Regions from separate parts of the Homo sapiens genome. Here all the other regions are linked to region 3. Evidence: promoter capture Hi-C in human tissues and cell types (Jung and others, 2019). All regions are on one chromosome and are shown on one strand. Each heading gives the region's core, a stretch centred on a gene start or on the middle of the fragment in contact. The rest is flanking DNA. Distances are from core to core; before and after follow the strand shown. Region 1 overlaps PPP5C-AS1 (PPP5C antisense RNA 1). Region 2 holds the start of SPACA4 (sperm acrosome associated 4). Region 3 holds the start of SLC8A2 (solute carrier family 8 member A2).

Region 1 (2,700 bases), core at 171-2,670, 1.1 Mb before region 3:
AGCTGGGATTACAGGCGTGCGCCACCGCGCCTGGCCCCAACCTGCATTTTCATTGGTTGCAGGGATAAAAGGCAAGTCCCACCAGAAAATCAATGCCAACCAGGAACTGAGGGTGGCGGTGTTCAGTCTGTTCCCAGGGTTTTGAGAACTGGTGCAGTGCCTAACAAGCACACACGTTCCCCTTAGTAAGGAAATACGGTTAAGAATGAAGTAAAAAAAAAATTGTTTTCTTTCAATTTATGTGTCTATATATTTTCATTTTTTATGTTAATAAAGACAAGGTCTCGCTATGTTGCCCAGGCTGATCTCAAACTCCTTAGCTCTACATATTTTCAAATGGCTACTAACTTCTTAGGACATAAGAGCTTAGGTTGTTTAGACCTCACCAGATGAGAATGGAACTGTTAGGTATTTCTTTGGGGGCGCTATGGAAAAAATGACTGAATTACTAAGGTCTGGTGCACCAAGCAAGTCCAGAGCCACCTGCACCAGGGCACAGGGGTTGAGAGCCTGGGCTCTGGAGTCAGAAGACCTAGGTTTGCCACCTCACTTTGCCATCCTTGGGCATTGTGCGACCTCTGCGCCTGTAAAACGGGAATAGTTAACAGTTGTGGGATTAGTGACAAAGCCCATAGAAAACATTCAGACAGGCCGGGCGTGGTGGCGGGCGCCTGTAGTCCCAGCTACTCGGGAGGCTGAGGCAGGAGAATGGCGTGAACCCGGGAGGCGGAGCTTGCAGTGAGCCGAGATCGTGCCACTGCACTCCAGCCTGGGCGACAGAGCGAGACTCCCTCTCAAAAACAAACGAACAAAAACATTCAGACAATCCCTGGCATGTCTTAGCAGGCGATAAATGTTAGTTTTATAAATTTATTTATTTAACCAAAATGGACTCATTCTACATATGTATTTCTATCATTTTTTTCCTTATTATTATCTGGACATTTTTTTCTAGGCAGGCCTGTAAGGATCTTTCTTTCTTTCTCTTGCCTTCCTTCTTTTTTTTCTTTTTTCTTTTTTTTTTTTTTTTTTTTTTTTGAGACAGGGTCTTGCTCTGTCACTCGGGTTGGAGTGCAGTAGCACGATCTCAGCTAACTGCAGCCTCCATCTCCTGGGCTCAAGCTATCTCCTCCCACCTCAGCCTCCTGAATAGCTGGGAACACATGCCACCACGCCCGACTAATTTTTTGTAGAGACAGGGTTTCACCATGTTGCCCAGTCTTTTCTCACTCCTGAGCTCAAGCCATCCTCCTGCCTCAGCCTCCCAAAGTGCTGGAATTATAGGCATGAGCCACTGCGCCTGGGCAACTGTTCTTTCTAATAGCCCCCTAGTCTGCATCCTTCAGGGACTTCTTAAAGTAAAAACGTCCAGCCAGGCGCAGTGGCTCACGCCTGTAATCCCAGCACTTTGGGAGGCCGAGGTGGGTGGATCACGAGGTCAGGAGATCAAGACCACCCTGGCCAATATGGTGAAACCCCGTCTCTACTAAAAATACAAAAATTAGCCGGGCATGGTGACACGTGCCTGTAATCTCAGCTACTCGGAGGCTGAGGCAAGAGAATCACTGGAACCAGGGAGCTGGAGGTTGCAGTGAGCTGAGATTGCACCACTGCACTCCAACCTGGTGACAGAGCGAGACTCCGTCTCAAAAAAAAAAAAAAAAAAAGAAAAAAGAACTCCAAGACTTCAAGGTTCCCCTGAAGCTTGGATGCAAACGTAAAGCCTGACCTATCCTCATTGATAAATAGGCCCTTATTCTCCCTTCCCTTCCATTACTTCCCTCCTTCTCATAGGAAGGCATTCCATTTCTTCATCCTGCCATTTGAGGCCTCTGCCTCTGTGTCCTGCCCTGGCTAAGGCCCCTGCCTCTGTCTCCACCATGCCTTGTGACCCTGGAGAGGTCCCTCAATTCCTTAAGCCACAGGTTCCTCATCTATATAATGGGGATGATAATAATAGAAGCTGCATCCCTGGGCTGCTGTGAGAATTACAGAGTTCAACCCCCAAGGCTATGACGAATCTGCCCGTAGTAAAGAGTGAGGCTGGGGGCGGTGGCTCACCCCTGTAATCCCAGCACTTTGGGAGGCCAAGGCAGGTGGATCACTTGAGATCAGGAGTTCAAGACCAGCCAGGCCAACATGGTGAAACCCCGTCTCTACTAAAAATACAAAAATTAGCCAGGTGTGGTGGCAGGAGCCTGTAATCCCAGCCATTAGGGAGGCCGAGGGCAGAAGAATCGCTTGAGCCCGGGAGGCAAAGGTTGCAGTGAACCGAGATCGCTTCACTGCCCTCCAGCCTGGGTGACAAAGCGAGACTCCTTCTCAAAAACAAACAAACAAAAAACCAAACTGTTCCCCTGAACTTGTTTTTTTGTGGCAGCGGGTGGCAGCTGGGCCTGTCAGATAGAGGCTGATTTGGAATCAAGACATCGGTCTTTTGGGGCAACCGTTCAGATTCTGTGAGTTTGAAACCACAAATGCCAAAGTTTAAATTGGGAGACTGGACCCTGCAGGCACTATTTAAATCCCTTTTTGTGTTACAAATAGTGAACCCCCCCTGCTGCCATCTGCAGGCCACTAAAGTGTCCATTCCACATCTGAGTCCTGGGCGATTCTGAAGTGGGATCCCGAGGACAGAGATACTAATAAGTTGGCTCACGCCTGTAATCGCAGCACTTTGGGAGGCCGAGGCACGCAGAT
Region 2 (2,700 bases), core at 146-2,645, 1.1 Mb after region 3:
AGGATCACTTGAGGCTAGGAGTTTGAGACCAGCCTGGGCAACATAGCAAGACCCCATCTCTATAAAAAATTTTACAAAATTAGCCGGGCATGGTGGTGCACGCCTATAGTCCCAGCTACTCTGGAGGCTCAGGGAGGAGAATCACTTGAGCCTGGGAAGTTGAGGCTGCAGTGAGCCAAGATCGCGCCACTGCACTCCAGTCTAGGCAACAGAGCAAGATCCTATTTTTTTTTTTTTTTGAGATGGAGTCTTGCTCTATTGCCTAGGCTCAAGTGCAGTGGCACAATATTGGCTCACTGCAACCTCCACCTCCCAGGTTCAAGCCTCCCAAGTAGCTGGGATTACAGGTGCACACCACCATGCCCAGCAAATTTTTGTATTTTTAGTAGAGATGGGGTTTTACCACGTTGGCCATGCTGGTCTTGAACTCCTGAGCTCAGGTGATCCACCCGCCTCGGCCTCCCAAAGTGCTGGGATTACAGGCGTGAGCCACTGCGCCCGGCCAATTTTTTAAAATAAAAAATAAAATTAAGAAATAAATACAACATAGGAATATTCAAATGACTGAATTTGAATCAAGCCCCCTGCACGTAGCTGGCCCTGAGAGCCTGTGAGCTGTGGGGGCCGGTGCCCTAACACTTCCTGTCATCACAGTAGTTGTTATTGAAAGCACCAAGTGCCAGGCGTGGTGTGGTGGCTCACGTCTGTAATCCCAGCACTTTGGGAGGTCGAGGCGGGCAGATCACTTGAGCTCAAGAGTTCGCAACCAGCCTGGCCTACATGGTGAAACCCTGTCTCTACTAAAAATACAAAAATTAGCCAGATGTGGTTGCATGCGCCTGCAGTCCCAGCCACTCGGGAGGCTGAGTTACGAGAATCGCTTGAAGCTGGGAAGCAGAAGCTGCAGTGAGCTGAGATCACGCCACTGCACTCCAGCCTGGGTGACAGAGTGAGAGACTCCGTCTCAAAAAAATAAAAGCAAGCAAGCACTGAGCATGAATCCTGGCACACAGCAAGTGCTCAGTTAATACACCCTCTTCTTTCCCAGCCTCTTTGGAATTCAATGAACCTGGCTCTCATCCTGGCTCGGGGACCCTGGATACATCACTTTCCCCAGCCTTAGTTTACCCATCTGGAATATGGGGTCACTATGGGAGGTGTGAGGCTGAAGTCAAGCCCTTGGCGGGTGTACAGCACAGAGAATGCGGACAAGCTTGTGGCCAGCGTCCTCTGGGTTCAGGGCGTCTTCACCTTGGCAGGGATGGCAGAGCCCTCTTGCGCCCCGGCAGGTCGGCGGGGCAGGCCACCCCTTGGATTGTGACACCCACTCCTCTCACCTATGACCTCATCCCCAGAGCGGCCAGTGGGAACCCTGAGGGATCTGTGAGATCACTCATTCCATTCACAGACTCTTGTTGGGCAGCAGCCACCCGCTCACCTCCATCCCCAGGACTTAGAGGGACGCAGGGCGTTGGGAACAGAGGACACTCCAGGCGCTGACCCTGGGAGGCCAGGACCAGGGCCAAAGTCCCGTGGGCAAGAGGAGTCCTCAGAGGTCCTTCATTCAGCGGTTCCGGGAGGTCTGGGAAGCCCACGGCCTGGCTGGGGCAGGGTCAACGCCGCCAGGCCGCCATGGTCCTGTGCTGGCTGCTGCTTCTGGTGATGGCTCTGCCCCCAGGCACGACGGGCGTCAAGGACTGCGTCTTCTGTGAGCTCACCGACTCCATGCAGTGTCCTGGTACCTACATGCACTGTGGCGATGACGAGGACTGCTTCACAGGCCACGGGGTCGCCCCGGGCACTGGTCCGGTCATCAACAAAGGCTGCCTGCGAGCCACCAGCTGCGGCCTTGAGGAACCCGTCAGCTACAGGGGCGTCACCTACAGCCTCACCACCAACTGCTGCACCGGCCGCCTGTGTAACAGAGCCCCGAGCAGCCAGACAGTGGGGGCCACCACCAGCCTGGCACTGGGGCTGGGTATGCTGCTTCCTCCACGTTTGCTGTGACCAACAGGGAGGACAGGGCCTGGGACTGTTCTCCCAGATCCGCCACTCCCCATGTCCCCATGTCCTTCCCCCACTAAATGGCCAGAGAGGCCCTGGACAACCTCTTGCGGCCCTGGCTTCATCCCTTCTAAGGCTGTCCACCAGGAGCCCGGTGCTAGGGGAAGCATCCCCAGGCCTGACTGAGCGGCAGGGGAGCACGGCCCGTGGGTTTGATTGTATTACTCTGTTCCACTGGTTCTAAGACGCAGAGCTTCTCACATCTCAATCAGGATGCTTCTCTCCATTGGTAGCACTTTAGAGTCCATGAAATATGGTAAAAAATATATATATATCATAATAAATGACAGCTGATGTTCATGGAGCATTCTTTGTTTTCTTTTCTTTTTCTTTTCCTTTTTTTTTTTTTCTTTTTGTAGAGATAAGGTCCAGCTATGTTGCCCAGGGTGGTCTCGGATTCTTGGGCTCAAGTGATCCTCCCACCTCAGCCTCCCAAAGTGCTGGGATTACAGGTATGAGCCACGGCACCTGGCCAAGCCTGTCTTACGTTACGTGCCACTGAATCCTCACACCAAGCTGGGAAGGTAAACACTCTTTCAAACATTTCAAACATCCTGGTCTCAACTCCAATCATTCTCAAAGTGTGGTCCCTGGACCAGAAACAGCAGCAGCAGCAAGTGGGAACTTCCTGAAAAT
Region 3 (2,719 bases), core at 113-2,612:
TGGCACACCAGGAAAGGGATGGAAGTGAGACTGCAGGAAGGACTGGCCCGGTCTAACTCAGTACCTAGTGCTTGCCCAGAGCAGGAAAGGCGCTCAGTAATTATCAACAAGAATGAATGAATCAAGAGCTGGACAAACAGCAAGAGGTATGGAAGTGAGACGGCAGGAAGGACTGGTCCAGTTACACGAGGAAGACTGGGGAGGTTAGATTGAAGGGAGGTCTGGTCTCATCTCTACTACAGAGGCTACCGGTTAAACTGCAAGAAGGACCGGCCTCAGAACGCCAGAAACAAGGCAGGGGGAGGTGGGCTCGGTCCTCAGGGGAGAGCTGGGGTGGGTGCCGGCTGGGAGGAGTGGAGAGAGCAGGGGAGCTCTGCTGAAGTGGGGAGAGGAGTTTAGAGGACTCCAGGCCTGGGGGAGCCCACTCTGCGGGTGGGGGGGTCTAATTCCTCCAGGTCCCCCCTGCCAGGGGCGGAGACAAAGGTGTGTGGGAGGAGGGTGCACTGGCTCCCAGGGAGAGCCAGAGAAGAGGAAAGAGAGAGAGAAACAGAGACTGAGATATCCAGAGACAGAGATGGAGACGAGGGGGAGATGGGGAGGGAGGGAGAGAGAGAGAGAGAGAGAGAGACATGCGGACATGGGAAGAGACAGAGACACAGAGAAAGCAGAGACAGAGAGAGACACAGGAAAGCTGAGACAAGGGAGAGAGGCAGAGACACAGAGACACAGAGAAACAGAGATGGCGCAAGAGGAAAGGAGAGAGAAACCCAGGACTTAGAGACAGAGCCCCAGAGAGACTCCGAACAGACCCCGGCACAGAGACACAGAGAGAGGGAGACAGGAGTGAGAGACTGAGAGACAGGGACTCCCAGAGGCGGCCAGACTCTGCTAGACAGAGACCCCTGAGACATGTGGAGAGACAGAAAGATGAGACCCAGACACAGGAAGGCGGGGGCAGAGGTAGAGAGCGCGAGGGGGGGTGCCCCAGACGGGGTGGGGGCGGGGTGTCCTCGCCCCCCAGTACCCAGGCGGTCCCCCTCCCCAGCCGCCCGAGAACCAGGAGGGACTGAAGGTGTTGGGGCGGCTGGTGGCACTCCCACCCCACAGAAGGTACGCGTGCTGGGCCAGGCAGCCCCCCACCTCCATAAACCAGCCCAGGGAAGCCAGCTCCAGGCTTCCCGAACCGCCCCCACTCCGCACCTGGGGTAACCCCGTCCTTTTCCCACGCCCCCACCTCCCCACCAATGGGGTCTCTTACCTGCGGCTACAGCCTGGAGCAGGTCCCCCCAGCGCTGGGCTGGCAGTGGTGGGCGACTCCGCCCGAAAGAGAGAGAGAGATTGAGAGAGAGAAAAGCCTGAGACTGAGAGGGAGAGCCGGGGAGGAGGGGAGGGAGAGGGGATAGAGGGAGGAGAAGAGGAGAGGGGAGGGACACGGGGGAGGGGGAGGCGGCGAGGGAGCGAGGGAGGGGGAGGAGCCGGAGAGAGGGGGAGGAGGCGGAGGCGGGCAGAGGGAAGGCGGTGCGGGAGGCGGGGGGAGGCCCGGGGAGGGGCCTGGGGGAGCAGGGAGCCCGAGCCTCCTCCCCAGCCTCCGGGTTCAGCACCAGAGGCAGGGGACAGCACCGGAGGGCGCTCCTGTGTGTTTCAGAAGCAGCCCCCGCCCCCCAACACACACACACACACACGCACACACACACACGCACGCAGTCTCCCAGCCATACAAGGGCCAACAGCTACAAATAGTTACAGACTTACAGAACTAGGGGGAGGGCAAGAATGTTTAGCTGGAGTCAGATCCAAATTCACATACTGTGCCTGCACAGCCTCACAAAGGAGGCCAGAAACAACCACAAAGACACCCATTAATAAGAATAACAACAGCTGCCATACATACAGGCAGCCCTGACCACGTGCCTGGCATCGGCAGCACATTATTATTATTTGAGACAGGGTCTCACTCTGTCACCCAGGCTGGAGTGCAGTGGCACGATCTTGGCTTACTGCAGCCTCAACCTCCTGGGCTCAAGCAATCCTCCTGCCTCAGCCTCCTGAGTAGCTGGGACTACAGGTGCCCGCCACCACCACGCCAGGCTTTTTCCCTCCATTTTTTTTTTTTAGGAGATGGGATCTCACCATGTTACCCAGGCTGGTCTCCAACTCCTGGGCTCAAGCGATCCTTCTGCCTTGGCCTCCCGAGTAGCTGGGACTACAGGTGCCCACCACCACCACGCCAGGCTTTTTTTCTCTTCATTTTTTTTAAGAGACGGGGTCTCACTATTTTACCTAGGCTAGTCTCCAACTCCCGGGCTTAAGCAATCCTTCTGCCTCGGCCTCCCAAAGCGCTGAGATTACAGGTGAGAGCCACCGCACAGGTGAGAGCCACCGCACCTGGCATGTTCTAATGTTTTTTATAAATTTAGGTAAATGCTATTATGAGCTTCACTTACAGACAGGGAAACCAAGGCATGAGGTGGTAAATATGGCTCCAGATTCTACACCCTTAACTGCTGCACCGCACAATTCCCCAGGCTGAGGACGGGTCAGGTCAAGAAGAGACTTGCAGGCTGGGTGCGGTGGCTCACGCCTGTAATCCCAGCACTTTAGGAGGCTGAGGCGAGCAGATCACTTGACGTCAGGAGTTGGAGACCAGCCTGGCCAACATGGCGAAACCCTGTCTCTTCTAAAAATACAAAAATTAGCCAGGCCAGGTGGCACACGCCTG

Evidence for each region. Contacts are between HindIII fragments. The study calls those that stand out against the background at their distance.
Region 1: a contact is called between a fragment that was not itself captured here and the fragment with the promoter of SLC8A2 in region 3, in 1 of the 25 tissues and cell types used here (psoas muscle).
Region 2: a contact is called between the fragment with the promoter of SPACA4 here and the fragment with the promoter of SLC8A2 in region 3, in 1 of the 25 tissues and cell types used here (dorsolateral prefrontal cortex).

Annotation. Positions count from the first base shown.
Region 1 is chr19:46,399,264-46,401,963 of GRCh38, forward strand. The region is part of intron 1 of PPP5C-AS1 (PPP5C antisense RNA 1); the gene reads right to left. Among named protein-coding and RNA genes, the nearest start is that of PPP5C-AS1, 3.6 kb to the right of the region's middle. The HindIII fragment of the contact is 5,392 bases long and covers 1-2,700 here.
Region 2 is chr19:48,605,347-48,608,046 of GRCh38, forward strand. SPACA4 (sperm acrosome associated 4) reads left to right here and starts at 1,396. Exons shown (of 1, transcript NM_133498.3): 1 at 1,396-2,368. The coding sequence starts at 1,633. The coding sequence ends at 2,007. All of the region lies in intron 5 of FAM83E (family with sequence similarity 83 member E), which reads right to left. The HindIII fragment of the contact is 21,490 bases long and covers 1-2,700 here.
Region 3 is chr19:47,470,531-47,473,249 of GRCh38, forward strand. SLC8A2 (solute carrier family 8 member A2) reads right to left here and starts at 1,363. Exons shown (of 10, transcript NM_015063.3): 1 at 1,259-1,363. The HindIII fragment of the contact is 16,110 bases long and covers 1-2,719 here.